7 separate regions of the Homo sapiens genome follow, and regions 2, 3, 4, 5, 6 and 7 are each linked to region 1. Evidence: promoter capture Hi-C in 16 types of primary human blood cells and fetal thymus (Javierre and others, 2016). All regions are on one chromosome and are shown on one strand. Each heading gives the region's core, a stretch centred on a gene start or on the middle of the fragment in contact. The rest is flanking DNA. Distances are from core to core; before and after follow the strand shown.

Region 1 (2,700 bases), core at 19-2,518:
ATTTGTTTTTCGTAGAGACAGGATTTTGCTGTTACCCAGGCTGATCTCAAACTCCTGGGCTCAGGGAATCCTCCTTCCACTGCCTCCCAAAGTGGAGGGCATGAGCCACCACGCCCACCCTGACAAGAGACATTTACCATCTATTTTTTCTGAGGACTACTAGCTATGTGTTTTCATCTACATAACAAGACCCGCCCCCCTTGCTAGCCAAGTCTCTTCCTTTCTCCCTCCTATAATCTGTTTTCCCAGGTTCCAAGCTTGCACTCTTTCTATAATCTCAAGGTGATATATAAACTTCTGTATCTCATTGGTGGGTGGGTCCTCATTTTGAAGTCTCCCGTGTCTATGTGCTAAATCAACCGGCCTCATGTCCGTGATTTTCAGCAAGCTTCCAGGGGACCCAAGGGCAGTGCCCGTTTCAGTTAAAAATGGCATCTCATTTAACCTGTAATCTAATTGTTAGTTATGGGGTTCTGGAGATGCTATCCCCAAAGGACAGCATGTGCAGGAAGGACTTTGGCTTTCCCCTTGAAGCGGATTGACCTTGGATATAGATTTGCTGACTTTCCTCGGAGAAAGTGAGACCCTTGTGAGATGGGTCACAGAGGACAAGTGAAAAGGACCGTCTTAGAAGACAAAGGACACTGCAAGGAATCAGAATGAACAACCCTTGACGACTTTCCGCCAGTTTATCCCTGCTTTAAAGTTGATTTAAGACAGTCGACCAATGGTGTGACAGCTATCCTCAGTGAGAATGTAAGTGGCTCTGAAAAGAGCCTTTGGAAGCTTGGAAGCAATTAAGAAACCCAAGATAGAGCAGGGGATTATGCTCGCTCGCCACGGATACGACGCGCAAGCTGGATGTCCTTAGGCATAATAGTGACACGCTTGGCGTGAATAGCACAGAGGTTGGTGTCTTCAAAGAGACCCACCAGATAGGCCTCGCACGCCTCTTGCAGCGCCATCACCGCCGAGCTCTGGAAACGAAGGTCGGTTTTGAAATCCTGCGCGATTTCTCGCACCAGGCGCTGAAATGGCAGTTTGCGGATGAGCAGCTCAGTCGACTTCTGATAACGGCGGATCTCACGCAAGGCCACGGTGCCTGGCCTGTAGCGGTGGGGCTTCTTCACACCGCCAGTCGCTGGAGCGCTTTTGCGCGCTGCCTTGGTGGCCAGCTGCTTCCGCGGTGCCTTGCCGCCGGTAGACTTGCGAGCTGTCTGCTTCGTCCGGGCCATAGTTGAGAAAGCTATGCTCTGAAAGCAAGCAGCTGAATGAGCAGTGGCTTCTACCAGAATTTATAACGATGATCTGATCCTGATTGGTCAGAACTGTTGTAGGAAAAACCTGGTTGGTTGTTAATACTATCTTCATTTGGTTCCTGCCACTTTTTTTTTTTTTTTTTTTTTTTTACCTGACGGCTTCTAATTCTGTCGCCTAGGCTGGAGTGTGGTGGCGCGATCTCAGCTCACTGCAACCTCCGCCTCCCGGGTTCAAGCGATTCTGCCTCAGCCTCCGGAGTAGCTGGGACTACAGGCACTTGCCACGACGCCCGGCTAATTTTTTTTTAGCAGAGAAGGGGTTTCACCATGTTGGCCAGGCTGGTCTCAAACTCCTGATCTCAAGTTATCCGCCTGCCTCGGACTTCCAAAGTGCTTAGATTACAGGCGTGAGCCACTGCGCTCGTCCTCCGCGCCACTTTTATTTATTGTTTTCAACCAATCATGTTAAGATTCCCCCAATGAAAAGATAATCTGACCTAGAATTTGTGTAGGTCAGTCGTAGTCTTAAACTCATTTCCAATGGGTCATTTTTCCTATTTCGGATCGTGTAAAAATACATACAGTAGAACAACGTATTTGCTAGTATTTCCAAAAAGTAGTTCCGTTTTGTAACTGCTTAATTAAATCTTTTAATGACTGTACCAAGACCCAGAACAAAAACAATTTAAACTTAGGCTGGCACATTCTCTAAAACACCAAAACTTTAGTTTTGTCCAGTGTGGTGTGGGGAAGGAGTTTGATAGGTGCTTGACTAAATGATACCAATAAATGGTATCTGACCTCTTCATTAACTGAGTTTAATGCAATCCAATGGCTGATTGGATTAATTATGTAAATTATTGCTTAATTTCATTAGCATGCGCGGAATTACAGGTTTGGGTCAGTGATTAGATTTTTGCCAGTGAATCTGGGTAGTTCTGACAACAGCATTTTATTAGGATGGAGATTTTAGTTGATCAAAGAACTACCAGGTTCTGGTATTGATAAAGACCCATAAAGACAACAAAAAGGTTAGTTTAACATTTATTATATTCACAGGAGCAAATGATCACCAGAAATACTTTTGTTTGGGTTTTGTTTTTCTTTTTTTGAGACGGGGTCTCGCTTTGTCACCCAGGCTGGAGTGCAGTGGCGAGGTCATGGCTCACTGAAATCTCAAATTCCTGGGACTCAAGTGTTCCTTCTGCTGTCAGTCCGCCAAATACAGGCGAGGGCCTCGCGCCTGGTATTTTTTTTCTTTCTTTTTTTTAGATGGAGTCTCGCTCTGTCGCCCAGGCTGGAGTGCAGTGGCGTGATCTCGGCTCACTGCAACCTCTGCCTCCTGGGTTCAAGCGATTCTCCTGCCTGTCTCCTTAGTAGCGCTCGCCACCACGCCCGGCTAATTTTTGTGTTTTTAGTAGGGACAGGGTTTCACCATGTT
Region 2 (2,700 bases), core at 64-2,563, 1.7 Mb before region 1:
GACTTAAGACCGTGTTATACACCACTGAAATACAAATGTGGTTTATAAAAAAGCTAAACTTATAGAATTGGATTAGTAGGACCCCACAATTCCAGTAGGGAAGCATTTTATAGGTTTCTGGAGGCAGGGGCGGTGCATCATTATGGATATCATTTTCAACAGTGATAGTCACAAGCATACTCTAAGTATTTTTTTTTGGGACCATAGCTTTATATTGCCTAGACGTAAAGGTACAATTAAAATTCAGATTGTTTACTGTTTATTATTTTGATCATTATTGTAGTCTTAATAGTTGTTGAATAATTGTTGGAATTGTTCACCGTGTTAGATATAGTCAATTAACAGATGCCACCATTTCATTCTTGTGCAACACTGACTGGTTCCCATAGCTACTTAGGATCTCAGTAAGTAAAAAGGCATTGGGCTAACTAATCTCTGCTCTTTCTGGAGGGCAATAACTGAGACTCAGTTTCACCAACAAAGTTCGCCAGATGTTCAAAGAGGAAAGGGGCTAGGCTACATAAGTTGGGACCTGGTACTTATCTTCTCTGTAATTGTAGCAAGGACAAGGTTCCTGAAAGCTGGATCACCCCATGGACTGTAAACTTGAAGTCCTGCAAAGTTTCACCTATTACTTTGGTAGCCCTCAAAAAGAGTTCTGTGTTGCTTTGGAATCCTAAATCTGAATATAATCTAAAACAGTAGATTTCCCATTACACTGAGGTTGGAACCATTTATTTTATAGATGCAAAAAGTAGCTAGGAAAAACTAGTTAGATAAGTGATAGCTATCTAACTTAAGGCCCAGTGTTCTCTTCATTTTGTGTTAACTCCCCCATCCCCACCACCACCATAGTAAATGACTATGAGAGTTGTAGGTAGTATTCAATAGATCAATCCAGTGACACTGTGCTTAAGCATCACACAATTCAGATTTTAAAGATTTCCAAAAAAAAAAAAAGAAACTATATAGAATAAATATTAAAAGGGGTGAAAACATATATAGACTATTATAGAAAATAAAGCTTTGTGTTAGAATCAAACGTGTTCAAAAAGTCCATGAGAAATCACATCGATTGTAACCGTCTATGAGGTAGTCTTACCTGAGGACACTGGCTCCTTGAAATTCCTCTTCAAGTACAACAGTATTGTGTTAATTTTATTTCCTAAGAAGGCCACTACTATACTCAAACTTACAGTTTTCTCTTTACATGTCTCAGGCATCCACCAAACTCCCTCCTCCCTTCTAGACTGGATTAGAAGCTCTTCAGAAGAAACCCCCTTATCACAGATACAGCCCAATAAAACTTTCTGCGATGATAAAAATATTCTGTATTAACACTGTCCAATAGGTAGCCACTAACCATATGTGGCTACTGAGTACCGTAATGTGGCTAGAGTAAGTGTGCAAATTAATTTTTAATTTAAATTAATTTAAATAAAAATGAGCACATGTTGCTAGTGGCTAATATAGGACAGCAGAGCTTTAAAACAATTATTCTCAAACTTGGAAGAGCATACCTACCACCCACTTAGAGATCTCATTAAAAATGTAATATCAATTCCATTGATTTGGGGTTGGGCCCGAAATTCTGTATGTCTAACAAGCTTCAGAGTGATGCCAGTATAGCTGGGATATGGCTGCTCCGCCCTTAAATACCTGACAGTAAGTAGAAGTATGCTGGTCTGATATCTGCCCCCTAACCCTGAGTGTACTTTTCCCTTTACTAAACTTTTGAGTTCTTTAAGAGAATAAATGTGATTATCTTTGTAAACCTGGTATTTGTACACTATTCTTGGCATGTAGTGGACATTAAATTGTTGAATGAATGAATGATGCTTGTTTGGTGCCTACCTCAAAAAGGAGAGCACTTGAGATCCTTGTGTCTATTCCTACAGGTAACTGAACCTAAGCCAAAATTTAAGTAGACTCTTAACTCCACAAAATGAATAATCTTCTCACTGCTTTTAGGCACCAGCAGAGACGGGATTTTTAAGTTACCCTTGCAGTATATAGGAGGCAATGAATGTGAAGCAGTAGACTGTAAGAGTTAATGTTGAATTTTTCTACTACACATACCCTATGATCTGTGTGTAGAACACTTCTTCCGGAATCTTTTATTAGGACAGTATTTCACAGAATTTATTAGTATTATTTTTGTTAATTTACAAACCTTTATTCACCATGATTTACCATGTATGCTTTAGTGGCATGAAAGCAGTGGTAGGTAGCAAGGTAGTGAGACTCCAGAATCGAGCCAACAATACAATGCCATTTATTAGAGGATAATGTCTTCAAGCCTGGGATTCCTTATCTTTACACCTCAGATATTGCATTATACATTGAAAAACTAAGAATGAAACTTCAATTAATATTGGTTTCCCTTACTAGAGGTCTTTCTTTATTAGGAATGCCAAAAACGATGTGAATGTATATGTCTCTGCCAAACGCTAAGTCTCATGATTGGCCAAATTTAAGAAGTATTGCTACATTTTAAGAATTAATAAAAATGGCCGGGCGTGGTGGCTCACGCCAGTAATCCCAGCACTTTGTGAGGCCAAGGTGGGTGGATCACCTGAAGTCAGGAGTTCGAGACCACCCTGGCCAACATGGCGAAACCCCGTCTTTACTAAGAAAATACAAAAATTACCCAGGTGTGGCGACGCGTGCCTGAAATCACAGCTACTCGTGAGGCTGAGG
Region 3 (2,808 bases), core at 147-2,646, 1.6 Mb before region 1:
AGACCAAAGTAACTCAGGAAAAGAACCCCTTTCTATATAAGGACAAGCCATAAAACAGAAAAGGGGGAATATGAGTAAGGACCCTGCAACACTACTAGCACAAGGCTTATTTACCCTTAACTTCCTAAATTTAAACGATAAATTTCAATCAGCCATAGAAAAGCACTTTGCAAAAACCTTTCAAAACATAAAACCTTTACTTTTTATGGAAAGATGTAAATAGTAAGCTATGGTGAGGTCCAAATGATTTGTTAACGTGGGGAAGAGGATATGCTTGTGTTCACACCCCCTCAGGTCCTCTTTGGATTTCTGCGCGACATATGAAACCATACCATGGCATGGCTGGAACCCAACCCGGTACCAAAAATAAAGGAAATGACCCTGCAGGACCTGCAGCCCCAAAACGATGCGGCTTCCTCGGACGACACAGGCCCCGGACATTATGCTGAAGAAGACAACTCAGGAAGCTGAGCAAATCCTGCTCCAGACACAAACACCATTCACTCCAGATAATCTGTTCCTTGCTATGCCCTCCGTTGTACATTGCAACACTCGCAGGGTATTGGTTTTTCTTATTCTCTCACTCTGCCTGCAACTCGTACCTGCTACACTCTATTAGGCCCATCTTCTAGATCCACCTTTCTTCCGCCCTGTTACTTGGGCAGACACCCCCTTCCCAGCTTCTACCAATGTGACTGCTTGGGTAGGAGGGATAAACATACCCCTGGTGGGGTTCCTCAGTAACAGCCCTATAGAACAATGTGCAAAATCACCTCTCCTGGATAGACCCCCACTCCTGTGGGTCACTCTTTGATTGGAAATGAATATTACTGATTATACTCACGCTTGTCTTATGTTACCTACTGCTTCTGGGATGCAAAGCTGGAACACAAGCTGTAACCGCTGCACCTGTCAAGCTTGTCACTGCACACATCTGTATTCTTCAATCAACAAAACCTGATGCAAAAACAGAAAAGGGGGAGATGTAGGAGATCAGTCAGAGTGGTGAGAGAAACTGTAAGGAAAGGAGCAGGCCTTCTGAAGGGTCAGAAGGCTCTGCATAGCTTCGGGGAAGAATAGCTAAAGGCAGCTGTTCTCTAACCCTGAAGCAGAGGGTGAGGAGTATGTGCAAGGGGGTGAAGGTGAAATTATCTTGATCAGGTTTGTTCGTTTGAAGTTGTCCAGGAATTGAACTTTGAACATCCGTGTGACTGACGTCCCCTGAAAGGGGAACAATATGTTAATTACCCACAGATTGTGTTTGCTCCAGGCTTTCGGCATTCTGCCTGCACTGAATAAAAGCAAGCAGCTCCAGCTTCTGGGGGCTGCACTTTGGCCACTTGATCCAGGCAGTCCCCTAGCTGCTACACTGCATACCTGTGTGTGAGTACTCCTTTCATCCATCAGTCAGCCAGTGTCTGTGGGGCAGACCCCGCAAAGCAGGACAACAAAGGGGAGGTTAAACAAGGATCATTAATTAAGAAGCCAGGGCCAGGCAAGTTGGCTCACACCAGCATTTTGGGAGGCCGAGGTGGGTGGACCACGAGGTCAGGAGTTCAAGACCAGCCTGGCCAAGATGGTGAAGCCCCATCTCTACTAAAAAATACAAAAATTAGCCGGGTATGGTGGCAGGTGCCTGTAATCCCAGCTACTCGGGAGGCTGAGGCAGGAGAATTGCTTGAACCAAGGGGCAGAGGTTGCAGTGAGCCAAGATCATGCCGCTGCACTCCAGCTTGGCTGATAGAGTGAGACTCCGTCTCAAAAAAAAAAAAAAAAGGCAGGAGACTTTTGTCCCTAATGCCTAATGTTGCTTAATTCTGGACATGACATTGTATATAACAAGAAAAAAGAGAACTCAAGTTATCTCATCTCTCTCAAGCTTAATGTGTTTTGGGAATTCCAACAGCTGGTTTTTTTGTGTGTTTTTTTTTCTTAAGGAAATGAGGTCTCATTTTGTCACCCAGCCTGGAGTGCAGTGGCACAATCATAGCTCACTGCAGCCTCCAGCTCATATCTCTAATGACTCTCCCACCTCAGCCTCCAGAGTAGGACGGGCTACAGGAATGCACCATCACATCATATTTTATTTATTTTCACAAACTATAGCACAGCAGTGGAATATGCTTAACATTAGGAGAGTTTTGAGACCCACTACCCGGGTTGAAATTTGTTACATCATTTTTATTAACTGGATGACTTTAGGCATTATGCAGAAACATTCAGCTTGTTTCCTCATTTACAAAATAGAAACAATGGATTTTCGTAATGATGAGGCGATTGCTCAAGCTTAGTTAGAGTTGGGTCTAACAAAGAATTCTGACTTCTATTTCACTTTTCTTTCTACCAGTATCAAGAACAAAATGGGGGCTTCTGCACAGCAACTTCAGAAGATAAGCAGATTTTCTGGAAATGGATTTAGAGCAAGAGAGGATATCTAAAATCAAAGATATATGACACTGCTGGGGCTCAGAAACTGATATCCCAAAATATTGCACTTTGACATGCTGAACTGAAGAAGCTACAAGGTCTCTCTGACCTTCTCCCCACCCCTCCTGTCTCTCAATCCTTTCCGTCTCCCAAAGCACAGGATGAAGTTGTTTTCAGAAGTTCCTTATCTGCCTAAAGTCCAAACCTGCCAAAGAATACAATTATCTTTAGTCTCTACTCTGAGTTTTCATTAAATGAACTAATATCACAGGGAGAAACACAAGCCTGTCAACAAACCTAGATAGATTTTGTCACAAACCACTGTCTACTCTGCAGCCCTAACAGACATTGTCCCAGGCCCTTGCATGTTCTTCAAGCCCA
Region 4 (2,700 bases), core at 137-2,636, 1.8 Mb before region 1:
GAGTCCTCTAGGAGATACAGTGTATGTGCTAAGTTTAATGACGTCTCCTCTTCATTCTCCCCCACCCAGCGCCTAGTCCTTACTGGCCTTCAGTTCAGTGTTCGAAGGCTTGTCAATTTACCCAGCAGTTAAGAGTTGGCTTCTCCTAAAGCAACTTTCAAACTTGTCTGCATGTTACAAGCCCCCTACGGAGATTTTAAGTTTCAATCAGGCAACACACCATTTATGGCTGACTGAGCACTGGGATTCAAGCAAAATTTGATTTGATTTGAATCTTGAATAAACCAGTTGAATAGAATAAGATGTATGAAGCAACATCTGGCGCAGTGCTTACATCTTTAGTTCTGTACTGCCTTAGTGTTGTTATCAAAACTGACGCATATTAGGTTAAAAGACTATTACCGGGGCAGTTGGAAACCCAGGAGACACACCCTTCAGTATACTACGAAGGTGTGCGCCACGAAAACAGAGGGGGAGTCCTTCCTTAGGCAGTTACTGCCCAGGTTCCCACTCCGGTCCGCTATGTAAATCAGAGTCTCAAAACAGCTTTCCCTCGATTGGTTAATATTTAAAATGACAGGACAGCCTATTGGCTAGAAGCTGGTGGCGAAATTATGACATTACGGCAACCGTTGATCCTGGCGACGTAGACAGGGACAGACAGCTGGGTCTGAAACCTAAGCGAGCCTGCGGTTTCTTCCGGGAACGCCGAGTTAGCAAAATGGCCGCTTGTCTCCATTTTAAATTTAAGCACAACGAATTGACCCCAAAGCCATTTTTAATGGCTGGCTTCTTTCGGGTTCAGGACCCTTTGTCCCTCTCTAAGCTGCAACACTTGTCCCCACCCCTCTCCAGTTCCTATATTCTAATACCCCTCCGCCGCCAAATAAAATTTGGCGTCTGGCCACAGCTCTTTTAGTGGGTATCTGGGTGGCTCTTAAAAGAGCCTTTGGGGTTAGGTGTTAAGACGCTTACTTGGAATGTTTACTTGGAGCTGGTGTACTTGGTGACGGCCTTGGTGCCCTCCGACACGGCGTGCTTGGCCAGCTCTCCGGGAAGCAGCAGGCGCACGGCCGTCTGGATCTCCCTGGAGGTGATGGTCGAGCGCTTGTTGTAATGCGCCAGGCGGGAAGCCTCGCCCGCGATGCGCTCAAATATGTCGTTAACGAAAGAATTCATGATGCCCATGGCCTTGGAAGAGATGCCAGTGTCGGGATGGACCTGTTTCAGCACCTTGTACACGTACACAGAGTAACTCTCCTTGCGGCTGCGCTTGCGCTTCTTGCCATCTTTCTTCTGCGCTTTGGTCACTGCCTTCTTGGAGCCCTTCTTCGGGGCGGGAGCAGACTTGGCTGGCTCAGGCATCTTAAAACACCAGAAATGTGTCGAAAGTAAAGAGCGGATTTCTGCTACTTATAGGGCTTTTATGCTAATGAGGGATGGAGAGTACCTCTTAGTTAATTGGAAGACAAACTGCACAGTTGTCATCCGTGGGCAGAGCTATGCAAATGAGGTATGAAAGTACAGCTTTTCTATTGGCTATCTGACTAGCATTTGCTACCGACCAATCAAAAAGTCGGATTTACTCCCCAGGAACTACCTATAAAAGCGGCCATGTTTTACATATTTCTTGATTTTGTTTGTTTTCTCGTGAGCTTAGGCCGCTGGTTTTGGTGATTTTTGTCTGATTGCAATGTCTGGACGTGGTAAGCAAGGAGGCAAAGCTCGCGCCAAAGCGAAATCCCGCTCTTCTCGCGCTGGTCTCCAGTTCCCGGTGGGCCGAGTGCACCGCCTGCTCCGTAAAGGCAACTACGCAGAGCGGGTTGGGGCAGGCGCGCCGGTGTACCTGGCGGCGGTGTTAGAGTACCTGACCGCCGAGATCCTGGAGCTGGCCGGCAACGCGGCTCGCGACAACAAGAAGACTCGCATCATCCCGCGCCACTTGCAGCTGGCCATCCGCAACGACGAGGAGCTCAACAAACTGCTAGGCCGGGTGACCATTGCTCAGGGCGGCGTCCTTCCTAACATCCAGGCCGTGCTTCTGCCTAAGAAGACCGAGAGTCACCACAAGGCCAAGGGCAAGTGATTTGACAGGTATCTGAGCTCCCGGAAACGCTATCAAACCCAAAGGCTCTTTTCAGAGCCCCCCTACCGTTTCAAAGGAAGAGCTAACCTCACTGCTTGTAGGTAGAAGGAAAAAAGGCACTAAGGTAAGTTAATTTTATGCCAACCTTGAGCAAAGCGTATTACTGCTTTTCGGTTTTTGGGGAGCGCTGTTACTAAAGGTTGGTCTGTTTGTATGTAATAGTAGGTCAGTTACGTACTATCATACTCTAAAGAAATATTCTAGTTAATGCTTTGTAAGATCGACCATAGTTAGTGCCTAACAGTTTACATGCAGGGATGCCTCGTGATCTAAACACTTCGTTGTGATTACTTTAAAAATGTAAATTGAAGGCAAAACTCTAACGTGTTGGTAACCTTGTTTGGTCCTCCGACTAGTCCCCCGTCTATTTTTTTCTCAATTTAGGCTGTAGGCAGCCTCACTTTCCTAATTCTGTGAGAGTTATAGGTCCCATTCCTGCTAAAGTGCAGAGTATATTACCTAAAAGTTAACCAGGGAGTTGAAAGGTGTCTGTAAAACAGACTAATGTCCCTAATGTAGAACGGTGCCTGACATGCAACTTACTCTTGTATTTT
Region 5 (2,752 bases), core at 76-2,575, 1.7 Mb before region 1:
GGCGGGCTTTTTAAGTTTTAAAGATGACTGCATTCCGGCTGGGCTCAGTGGCTCATGCCTGTAATCCCAACACTTTGGGAGGCCAAGGAGGGCGGATCATAGGGTCAGGAGTTCGAAATCAGCCTGCCCAACATAATGAAAGCCCGTCTCTACTAAACAAATACAAAAAGTAGCCGGGCGTGGTGGTGTGCATCTGTAGTCCCAGCAACTTGGGAGGCTGAGGCAGGAGAATCGCTTGACTCCGGGAGGCAGAGGCTGCAGTGAGCCGAGATCACGCTATTGCACTCCAGCCTGGGTAACAGAGCAAGACTACGTCTCAAAAAAAAAAAAAAAAAAAAAGACTACATTCCTCTAGTGAGAATTGTGTTTGTTGGATTTCTCTTTTCAAAAGGAGCAATTAACACAGTATTCTAAAATAAACACTAAACGAAACTAAGCAGTAACGGCCTGACGCCCTAGGTCAGACCTGTAATCCCAGCAATTTGAAAGACTAAGGCAGAAGAATCGCTTGAGCCCAGGAGATCAAGACCAGCCTGGGCAATAAAGCGAGACAGCCCCCTCACCTCCACAAAAAGTAAAAAGCCTGCCCTGCCCGGTGGCTCATGCCTATAATCCCAGCACTTTGGGAGGCCGAGATGGGCGGATCACTTGAGGTCAGGAGTTCGAGGCCAGCCTGGCCAACGTGGCAAAACCCTGTTTCTACTAAACATACAAAAAAATTAGCCAGGCATGGCGGTGGGCTCCTGAAATCCCAGCTACTCGGGAGGCTGAGGCAGGAGAATCGCTTGAACCCGGGAGGCGGGGGTTGCAGTGAGCCAAGATCATGCCATTGCACTCCAGCCTGGACAATAGAGCGAGACTCCGTCGTCTCAAAAAAAAAAAAGAAAAGAAAAGAAAAAGCCTGGCCTGGTGGCTCAGTCTGAGATCTTAGATACTTGGGAGAATTACGCGGGGAAGGATTGATTGAGCCCAGGAGTTCGAAGCTGCAGCGAGCTATGGGGGGCAAAGCAAGATCCTGTTTAGGAAAGGAAAAAAAAAAAAAAACAAAAAAAACCCAGCAGCAAAAACTTAGTTTTATGACCTAAATTTATAAATGGACTACACTGTAAAGCACAATTAATTATTCAACTTTAGTAGAAATCCAGTCACATTTCTCTGTAAAAAATCTCAAATCTAATTGGATCACACACCAGGCCCTATAAAGAGAAGTGATCTGTAAATCTGATATGAAAGGTCATGGCCTGCACCAAGCCAACCACACGGAAGTCCACTGGTGGCAGACAGCCTCCTAAGCAGCTGGCCACCAAGGCAGCCAGCAAGAGCACTCTGGCCACCAGCAGCTTGAAGGTGTCCCTCAGATATAGGCCCTGAATCATGCTGAAATTCATCGCTACCAGAAGTCACTGAGCTACTTAAGGGAAAAGCTGCCCTTTCTTAAATGTTAGGACAAGGTTGCTGAATGAGATTATTAAAAAAATTAATGCCCCTAGGGTTCTAAATAATTGCAGTTATATGTGTTCCACTGAACAGAAGTTATTGGCATCACAAATAATTTGCATCAAAAATAATTTCTGGTGATACAAATAACAGAAATTATTTGCATCACCAGACAAAAGCCTCCAAGAAGTAACTTCGATAGTTTGATACCTTTAATCAATGGTAAATTGTGAGATGATGTAAGCACATTTCCCTGCAAACTTTGTAAAAACTATAAATTTTTTATAGTGGGATACATTCTTCCCCCTCCCTTTTTTCCTCACAAGTCTTACAATGTTTCTTAAATAAAATTTTCACTAAAACACGATTAAAATATAGCAATTGCAAGATAAATGTCTATGAAGCCCCATAGTATAACTCCCTGACATTCTTTACTCAATCAAATTGGGGCTCAGAAACAATACCCCAAAATGAAGGCCAAAGAAGCAACCTCAGAAGCAAAATTTTTCTGTGACTTTCTCCTGCCCTCTTGTCTCTCAGTCCCATTCTCCCCTGAGGCTAGACATAGAAACTAGAATTCCGGTTTCCCAAGGTGGCTTATGACAACCAGAATCCTTTTTCCCCAAAGCCAACCACAAAAACTAAAAATATTACTCTAACTTCCCTTCCAACTTTTCGTGTAAAAACTGGACACAGAGAAATTATTTGATCCACCTTGTTTAATTGCAGGTCATAAGACCCCATTCCAGAGATGGAGCTGTCCCATACCCAATACCCAGAAGGAAGGAATGCATGTTCAAAGAGGTGAGGGATGAAATGAAAATTCTAAACCCCTTTGACAGAATAATGGACCCTCCTTTGGCTAAAAGACCCCAAAAGTTTAAGTTCCCAGGCATGACAGGATGGAGGCTGCACATCCTGTTTGTTTCTACCCCTCTTCCCCTTTCTAATCACTGCTAGATTTTCTCAAAGTCCGATTTGAGGGAATAATACACCGGAAAGCCCTTTTACTTACTTTATCTGGCCTCTTCCACCCTCCTCCATGGTGGTCCAGACAAGACAGATATTAAGGACCATAGAGTTTCTTGATAAATGACTGCAGGCCCACAACTGGTTGTGACCAGTCTCCTGAGAATGCAGATCATGGACTTCTGCCCTACATTTCAGTTTTATATATAGGACCTAATTATAACTCATTTAAATGTTAAATCTTCACCCCAAAGTGATCATGGGACATATCTTACATACATGTAAACCTAATACACATCTGATTGGGTGTCCTTCATGAATATTCATAGCTCCTCCTATAACCTGT
Region 6 (2,700 bases), core at 130-2,629, 1.7 Mb before region 1:
AGAAAGGGAAAGAAAACCTCCTTCTGGCAGGATGTAGCTTCTGCTGCACAAGGTAGGATGATGACAAAAGGTTTTCACTGCTGGGGAATGGATGATTGCGGGAGAAAAAGAATCTCGGAAAAGAGTCGGGAGGGAACTAGGAGGGAGTGGCCAGAAGGAAAGGAACAAATACTTGAGACGTGAAAAATGTGAGATGGATGAGGCTAGGTTTGGAGTCAAATGTTGGCTGAGAGGGAGAATTTAAGTGATGGATGGATGATCATTGTCTAAAAGAGGAATGAATTTAGAAGTTTGTCCTCATGCCCTCATAAACAAACACGAAATGATGGATTATGGGATACATTTTCCATAACATGGCAAGCGTGGTACTTGGACGGATAAATAAAAGCCTGAGTAATATTTTCTAAATTCTTAAAAGTAAGAAAGAGGGTCTAAGAAAGTAAACTCAGAGCCAGGGACTTGGCCCATGTTAAACCCCAAGCACTACAGCTGGCTTTTACTCAACCCGTGGAAACTGACCAGGGTATAGAGCCTGATATATCTTCTTAGGTGAAGGTGAGACACCAGACCTAAATCTGTCATCTCAAGAGTAGAAGGATGAACCACACATACAAACCCATCACAGATGAATGCAAATAAAAAAGTCAGCTCCGAAGTTGGGTTCTGAGCAGTGTAGATTCTACTGCTAAGGCTTGGACTACAAGCCATCGATGCTTACTTGTTCCTGGCATTCATACCATAGGGATTCAAACACCCAAGCTGAGAATTTAATTTAGGCATATCCCAGGCTGGTTTTGTGCCCCTGAGCACCCGGTAGAAACAAATACAAGTCATCTCTGGAAAAGAAGCTTCATTTTACACCTCAACAAATTGCCACAGCTAAAATATCCCCCCAAAAATGCACAAGGAGCTTCACAATCTAAATTAAACATCATGAAACTAGAAGTATGACTAATGAAAACAAAAGCAACAGACAATGGGAGCTGGGCGTGGTGGCTAATGCCTGTAATCCCAGCACTTCGGGAGGCTGAGGCTGGAGGATTGCTTGAGGCCAAAAGTTTGAGATCCTGTCTCTGAAAAAAAAAAAAAAAAAAAAAAGCAACAGACAATGGAAATGAAAAGGGAGAATTAACAAGATACAGACTTGAGGCCAGGCACGGTGGTTCATGCCTGTAATCCCAGCACTTTGGGAAGTTGAGGCAGGCGGATCACAAGGTCAGGAGTTCGAGACCAGTCTGGCCAACATAGTGAAACCCCGTCTCTACTAAAAGTACACAAAAAATTAGCCAGTGTGGTGGTGTGCGCCTTTAATCCCAGCTACTCAGGAGGATGAGGCAGGAGAATCGCGTGAACCCGGGAGGTGGAGTTTGCAGTGAGCCAAGATCGTGCCACTGCACTCCACCCTGGGCCACAGAATGAGACTCTGTCTCAAAAAAAAAAAAAAACAGACTCGAATTGACTAGTGTCTTTTTGAAAAAAGAAAAAGAGGCCAGGCACAGTGGCTCACGCCTGTAATCCCAGCACTTTGGGAGGCTGAGGCAGGCGGATCACCTGAGCTCAGGAGTTCGAGACCAGCCTGGCCAATATGGTGAAACCCCATCTCTACTAAAAATACAAAAATCATCCAGGCATGGTGGCATGCACCTGTAATCTCAACTACTCAGGAGGCTGAGGCAGGAGAATCGCTTCAACCCAGGAGGCAGAGGTTGCATTGAGCCAAGATCACGCAATTGTCCTCCAGTCTGGGCAACAAGAGTGAAACTCCATCTGAAGGAAAAAAAAAGAAACAAAAAGTCTTATAAATATATTGAGGGACTAAGGAAATACCAAAAGTGACCACATAGATTTGAAAAAAGAACCTAATAGAAATTCTAGAAAATAAACATGTAATTATAAGACAAATTGAAATGAAAAGCTTACTGCATGTGTTTAACAGCAGCCAATTGGACCTACCGGTAGAAATTTAATAAACTATGTAATCAGATCTTAAGGAATTATCTGAAATGCAGAGATAAAAATGCAAAAGTGAGTTTAAGAAACCTGGAATTAGGGCTGGGCAAGGTGACTCATGCTTGTAATCCCAGCACTTTCAGAGGCCAAGGCAGGAGGATTGCTTGAGCCCAGGAGTTGGAGACCAGCCTGAATAATATGGCAAACCCCCGACTCTACTGAAAATACAAAAAATTAGCCAGGCATGGTGGTGCGTGCTTGTGGTCCCAGCTACTCAGGAGGCTGAGGTGAGAGAATCACTTGAGCTAGGGAAATCAAGGCTGCAGAGAGCCATGATCACACCACTGCACTCCAGCCTGGGCAATGAGAGTGAGACCTTGTCTCAAATAATAAATAAATAAATGAAAAGAGACCTAGAATTAGTAGTAAAATATGATCTGACGTTGACCTAATCACAGTACCAGAAGAAACAATCAGGGAGAATGATGCAAATGTGAGATTTAAAAGATCATGGCCAATAATTTTCTAGAATGGATGGATTACTAATAATTAAAAATAATATAAGAAAATAAAAATTGAAACCTAATGTATTGCTCATCAAAGCAAGCCTAGGTTAACAAAGTAAATATTTAAACAGAAAAATGATACAAAAAAAGGGAGTCACTATGTGTGCTGTGAATTAATTAAGCTCTCCAAATTTTTACAGATGTAATACTGATTTTCAAAAGATTGTGACTTCTGTTACATATT
Region 7 (2,794 bases), core at 282-2,781, 1.6 Mb before region 1:
AATTTTCTTTCTCTCATACTCTACACATTCAGTGACTCAGAAACGAACTATCAACCTTCTTTCAAAATAAACAAAGAATCCAACAACTTTTCACAGCCTCTACCACTAATACACTGGTCCAAGCCACTGCCATCTAAACTCCTTTATTTTAGTACCCTCCTAACTGGTCTCTGCTCCTATCCAGGTTCCATCACAGTTTATTCTTCATCAGGCATCCAGACAGCTCATTCTAAAATATAAATCAGATCAACTCAGTCCTCTGCTCAAAACCCTGAGTGGCTCCCACCTCACTAGGAATAAAAGCCAAAGTAGTTACACCGCCCATATAGGAACTGCTCGCCTCCATTTGCCTTTCAGACCTCATCTCCTTTCCTCTGCACCCTTCTCGCCTCCATTTGCCTTTCAGACCTCATCTCCATTCCTCTGCACCTCTTCTGCCCTTTTGCCCAGACACAATAACTCTCTGCTATCTCCAGGCTTTGCTACTTGGTCGTCTATTTGGAATATTCTCTCGTCTTTTTTTCTGCAACCATCGCTCTATCAGTAAAGCTTTCCATGACTCTATCATTTAAAATTATCACGTTCTCGACTGGGCGCGGTGGCTCACACCTGTAATCCCAGCACTTTGGGAGGCCGAGGTGGGCGGATCACATGAGGCAGGAATTCAGGACCAGCCTAACCCCATAAGTACTAAAAATACAAAAATTAGCTGCGTGTGGTAGCGCATGCTTGTAATCCCAGCTACTCGGGAGGCTGAGACACTAGAATTGCTTGAACCCAAGCGAGGCGGAGGTGGAATGTGCCGAGATCGCGCCACTGCACTGCAGCCTGGGCAACAGAGCAAGACCCTATCTCAAAAAAAATAACTAATTAAACATCACCTCCTCCCTCCACACGTCTTTAGCCTGTTTCAGTGATAGCACTTAGCACCATCTGATAGTTTCACTTACTTTGCGTGTGAAAGCACACCCAACAGACGCCATGCATACAGAAAATACTGTTTTGTTCACTGTCATTCACTCCTATACTTCTCAGAGCCATGAACAGTACCTGGCATACGTTATGTGCTCAATTTTTGTTGTTAAATTTATATCCTCATACAAACCAGTGCCTTAGCTCTGATAACATCGTTCTTTTCATATTAATGTACAAGTGCATATCTTTAAAAAAGATGAAACCCTAACTCCATTGATTTTCTCGATTTCAAAGTTATAACCCTACAATTTGCTTGCTGACCACAAAGAGGAAAAATCTGATTTTACAATGGAACTATCATCCTAAAGCAGCAATTGTCCTATTATCTTCAACGTAGATAAACCAGACATATGTCTCTGTATAAACTGACAAGCATATTAACCTGATTTCAACTAAGTATATAAAAGTCACTTCTGCTCAGGACAGAGTATAGAAGCCAAGTAAAATGATGCCGTAAGAAAAGCCAATCCAGGCCGGGCGCGGTGGCTCACGCCTGTAATCCCAACACTTTGGGAAGCCGAGGCGGGCGGATCACGAGCTCAAGAGATGGAGACCATTCTGGCCAACATGGTGAAACCCCACCTATACTTAAAAATACCAAAATTAGCTGGGCGTGGTGGCGCGAGCCTGTAGTCACTTGGGAGGCTAAGGCAGTAGAATCGCTTGAACTCGGGAGGCAGAAGTTCCAGTGAGCCGAGATCACGCCACTTCACTCCAGCATGGCGAAGGTGAGACTCCGCCTCAAAAAAGGAAAAAAAAAGCCAATCCAAATCTCCTACAAGTTTGGTCTCTAGCAAATCATTGTCCTGATGCCTGAATGTGTACTTTTTCAAAAGGCGATCATTGCTGGTTAAGAATTTAAGTTTTCGTGGCCGGGCGCAGTGCCTCATGCCTGTAATCCCAACACTTTTGGGAGGTCGAGGCGGGTGGATCACGAGATCAGGAGTTCGAGACCAGCCTGGCCAACATGGTGAAACCCCATCTCTACTAAAAACACAAAAATTAGGCGGGCGGCTGTAATACCAGCTATTCAGGAGGCTGAGGCAGGAGAATCGCTTGAAACTGTAAGGCGGAGGTTGCGGTGAGCCGAAATCGCGCCACTGCACTCCAGCCTGGATGAAAGAGCAAAACTCCGTCTCAACAACAACAAAATAAGTTATGGTGATGTTTCTATATTGCTCACTAAGCGGTACCCTACCTTTTAATATTTTCGTAATATTCAAAAACACATTTTAAGTCTATTGGAAACAATACTTGCAAGCTCTCAAGTGAACATTTATATTGTTACCCCACACTGCCTTTTGTAGACGAGTTTTGTCACCAAGTCAAAAGCAGCAGCGCGCACGCCGCCTGGACTTGGGTCTGCGATCCTACTCACGCAGATGTGTTGCGCTCACGGATTCGCCTTGGTTTAAGGCCCGCCGTCTGGGTGCGAGCTTTCTTTGTTTTTAGCCCTTCCCGCCATTTTGGAAAGGGTAACTTGCAGTCTCTCCGCGAAGTTTCCAACTTCTGTAGTCTTTGAGAACCTTACGAACGCTTCAAGCTTAAACTGAAGGAGGAAGGCCCACGGGAATTATAAACTGTCACAATCCAGCTTACTCACTGATATCTAGTGTTAAAATGCCACAAGAAAGCTAAACATATTCAACATACCAACTTCCCTCAAGCAGAAAACAGTGGCTTTAAGTACTTTATGCCCAAATCCTAAACATGCGAGATTAAGCACGAGTAATTAAACGTTACCTGCAAATCTACACATGTGCACAGTAACTACTTCTCAGCAAAAATCTGGAACAAAGCAGGATAACAAGATGTCTGC

The links. The method cuts DNA at HindIII sites, captures the fragments that hold promoters and counts their contacts. A CHiCAGO score of 5 or more calls a contact.
Region 2: a fragment that was not itself captured here is called in contact with the fragment with the promoter of H3C12 in region 1 in 12 of 17 cell types (erythroblasts, fetal thymus, total B cells and 9 more); the score reaches 22.0 in erythroblasts.
Region 3: a fragment that was not itself captured here is called in contact with the fragment with the promoter of H3C12 in region 1 in 1 of 17 cell types (M0 macrophages); the score reaches 6.4 in M0 macrophages.
Region 4: the fragment with the promoter of H2BC4 here is called in contact with the fragment with the promoter of H3C12 in region 1 in 12 of 17 cell types (total B cells, total CD4 T cells, M0 macrophages and 9 more); the score reaches 19.1 in total B cells.
Region 5: a fragment that was not itself captured here is called in contact with the fragment with the promoter of H3C12 in region 1 in 12 of 17 cell types (fetal thymus, total B cells, erythroblasts and 9 more); the score reaches 22.1 in fetal thymus.
Region 6: a fragment that was not itself captured here is called in contact with the fragment with the promoter of H3C12 in region 1 in 12 of 17 cell types (fetal thymus, total B cells, naive CD8 T cells and 9 more); the score reaches 30.2 in fetal thymus.
Region 7: a contact is called between a fragment that was not itself captured here and the fragment with the promoter of H3C12 in region 1, in 8 of 17 cell types (fetal thymus, non-activated CD4 T cells, erythroblasts and 5 more). The highest score is 27.3, in fetal thymus.

The regions. Positions count from the first base shown.
Region 1 is chr6:27,889,558-27,892,257 of GRCh38, forward strand. It overlaps H3C12 (H3 clustered histone 12), which reads right to left and starts at 1,269. Exons shown (of 1, transcript NM_003535.3): 1 at 758-1,269. The coding sequence starts at 1,235. The coding sequence ends at 825. RefSeq lists enhancers at 1-215, 216-860, 502-801, 861-1,505, 1,022-1,241. The HindIII fragment of the contact is 2,915 bases long and covers 785-2,700 here.
Region 2 is chr6:26,236,908-26,239,607 of GRCh38, forward strand. No RefSeq gene overlaps it. Among named protein-coding and RNA genes, the nearest start is that of H4C6, 2.1 kb to the right of the region's middle. The HindIII fragment of the contact is 583 bases long and covers 1,023-1,605 here.
Region 3 is chr6:26,259,025-26,261,832 of GRCh38, forward strand. LOC105374986 (a long non-coding RNA gene) reads left to right here. Exons shown (of 3, transcript XR_926613.3): 2 at 295-1,383; 3 at 2,348-2,808. Among named protein-coding and RNA genes, the nearest start is that of H2BC9, 8.8 kb to the left of the region's middle. The HindIII fragment of the contact is 962 bases long and covers 916-1,877 here.
Region 4 is chr6:26,122,540-26,125,239 of GRCh38, forward strand. It overlaps H2BC4 (H2B clustered histone 4), which reads right to left and starts at 1,387. Exons shown (of 1, transcript NM_003526.3): 1 at 928-1,387. The coding sequence starts at 1,365. The coding sequence ends at 985. It overlaps H2AC6 (H2A clustered histone 6), which reads left to right and starts at 1,633. Exons shown (of 1, transcript NM_003512.4): 1 at 1,633-2,151. The coding sequence starts at 1,694. The coding sequence ends at 2,086. RefSeq lists enhancers at 1-178, 179-864, 312-1,511, 560-1,299, 1,543-2,700 and 3 more and a silencer at 1,171-1,536. The HindIII fragment of the contact is 15,442 bases long and covers 1-2,700 here.
Region 5 is chr6:26,217,809-26,220,560 of GRCh38, forward strand. It overlaps the pseudogene H3C5P. Among named protein-coding and RNA genes, the nearest start is that of H2AC8, 2.3 kb to the left of the region's middle. The HindIII fragment of the contact is 3,747 bases long and covers 1-2,752 here.
Region 6 is chr6:26,159,439-26,162,138 of GRCh38, forward strand. H2BC6-AS1 (H2BC6 antisense RNA 1) reads right to left here. Exons shown (of 3, transcript NR_186648.1): 3 at 836-1,767. It also overlaps a transcript of H2BC5 not described here. Among named protein-coding and RNA genes, the nearest start is that of H2BC5, 2.7 kb to the left of the region's middle. RefSeq lists a silencer at 63-357 and an enhancer at 1,133-1,884. The HindIII fragment of the contact is 1,067 bases long and covers 847-1,913 here.
Region 7 is chr6:26,282,316-26,285,109 of GRCh38, forward strand. No RefSeq gene overlaps it. Among named protein-coding and RNA genes, the nearest start is that of H4C8, 1.8 kb to the right of the region's middle. RefSeq lists enhancers at 2,060-2,794, 2,504-2,794. The HindIII fragment of the contact is 1,969 bases long and covers 548-2,516 here.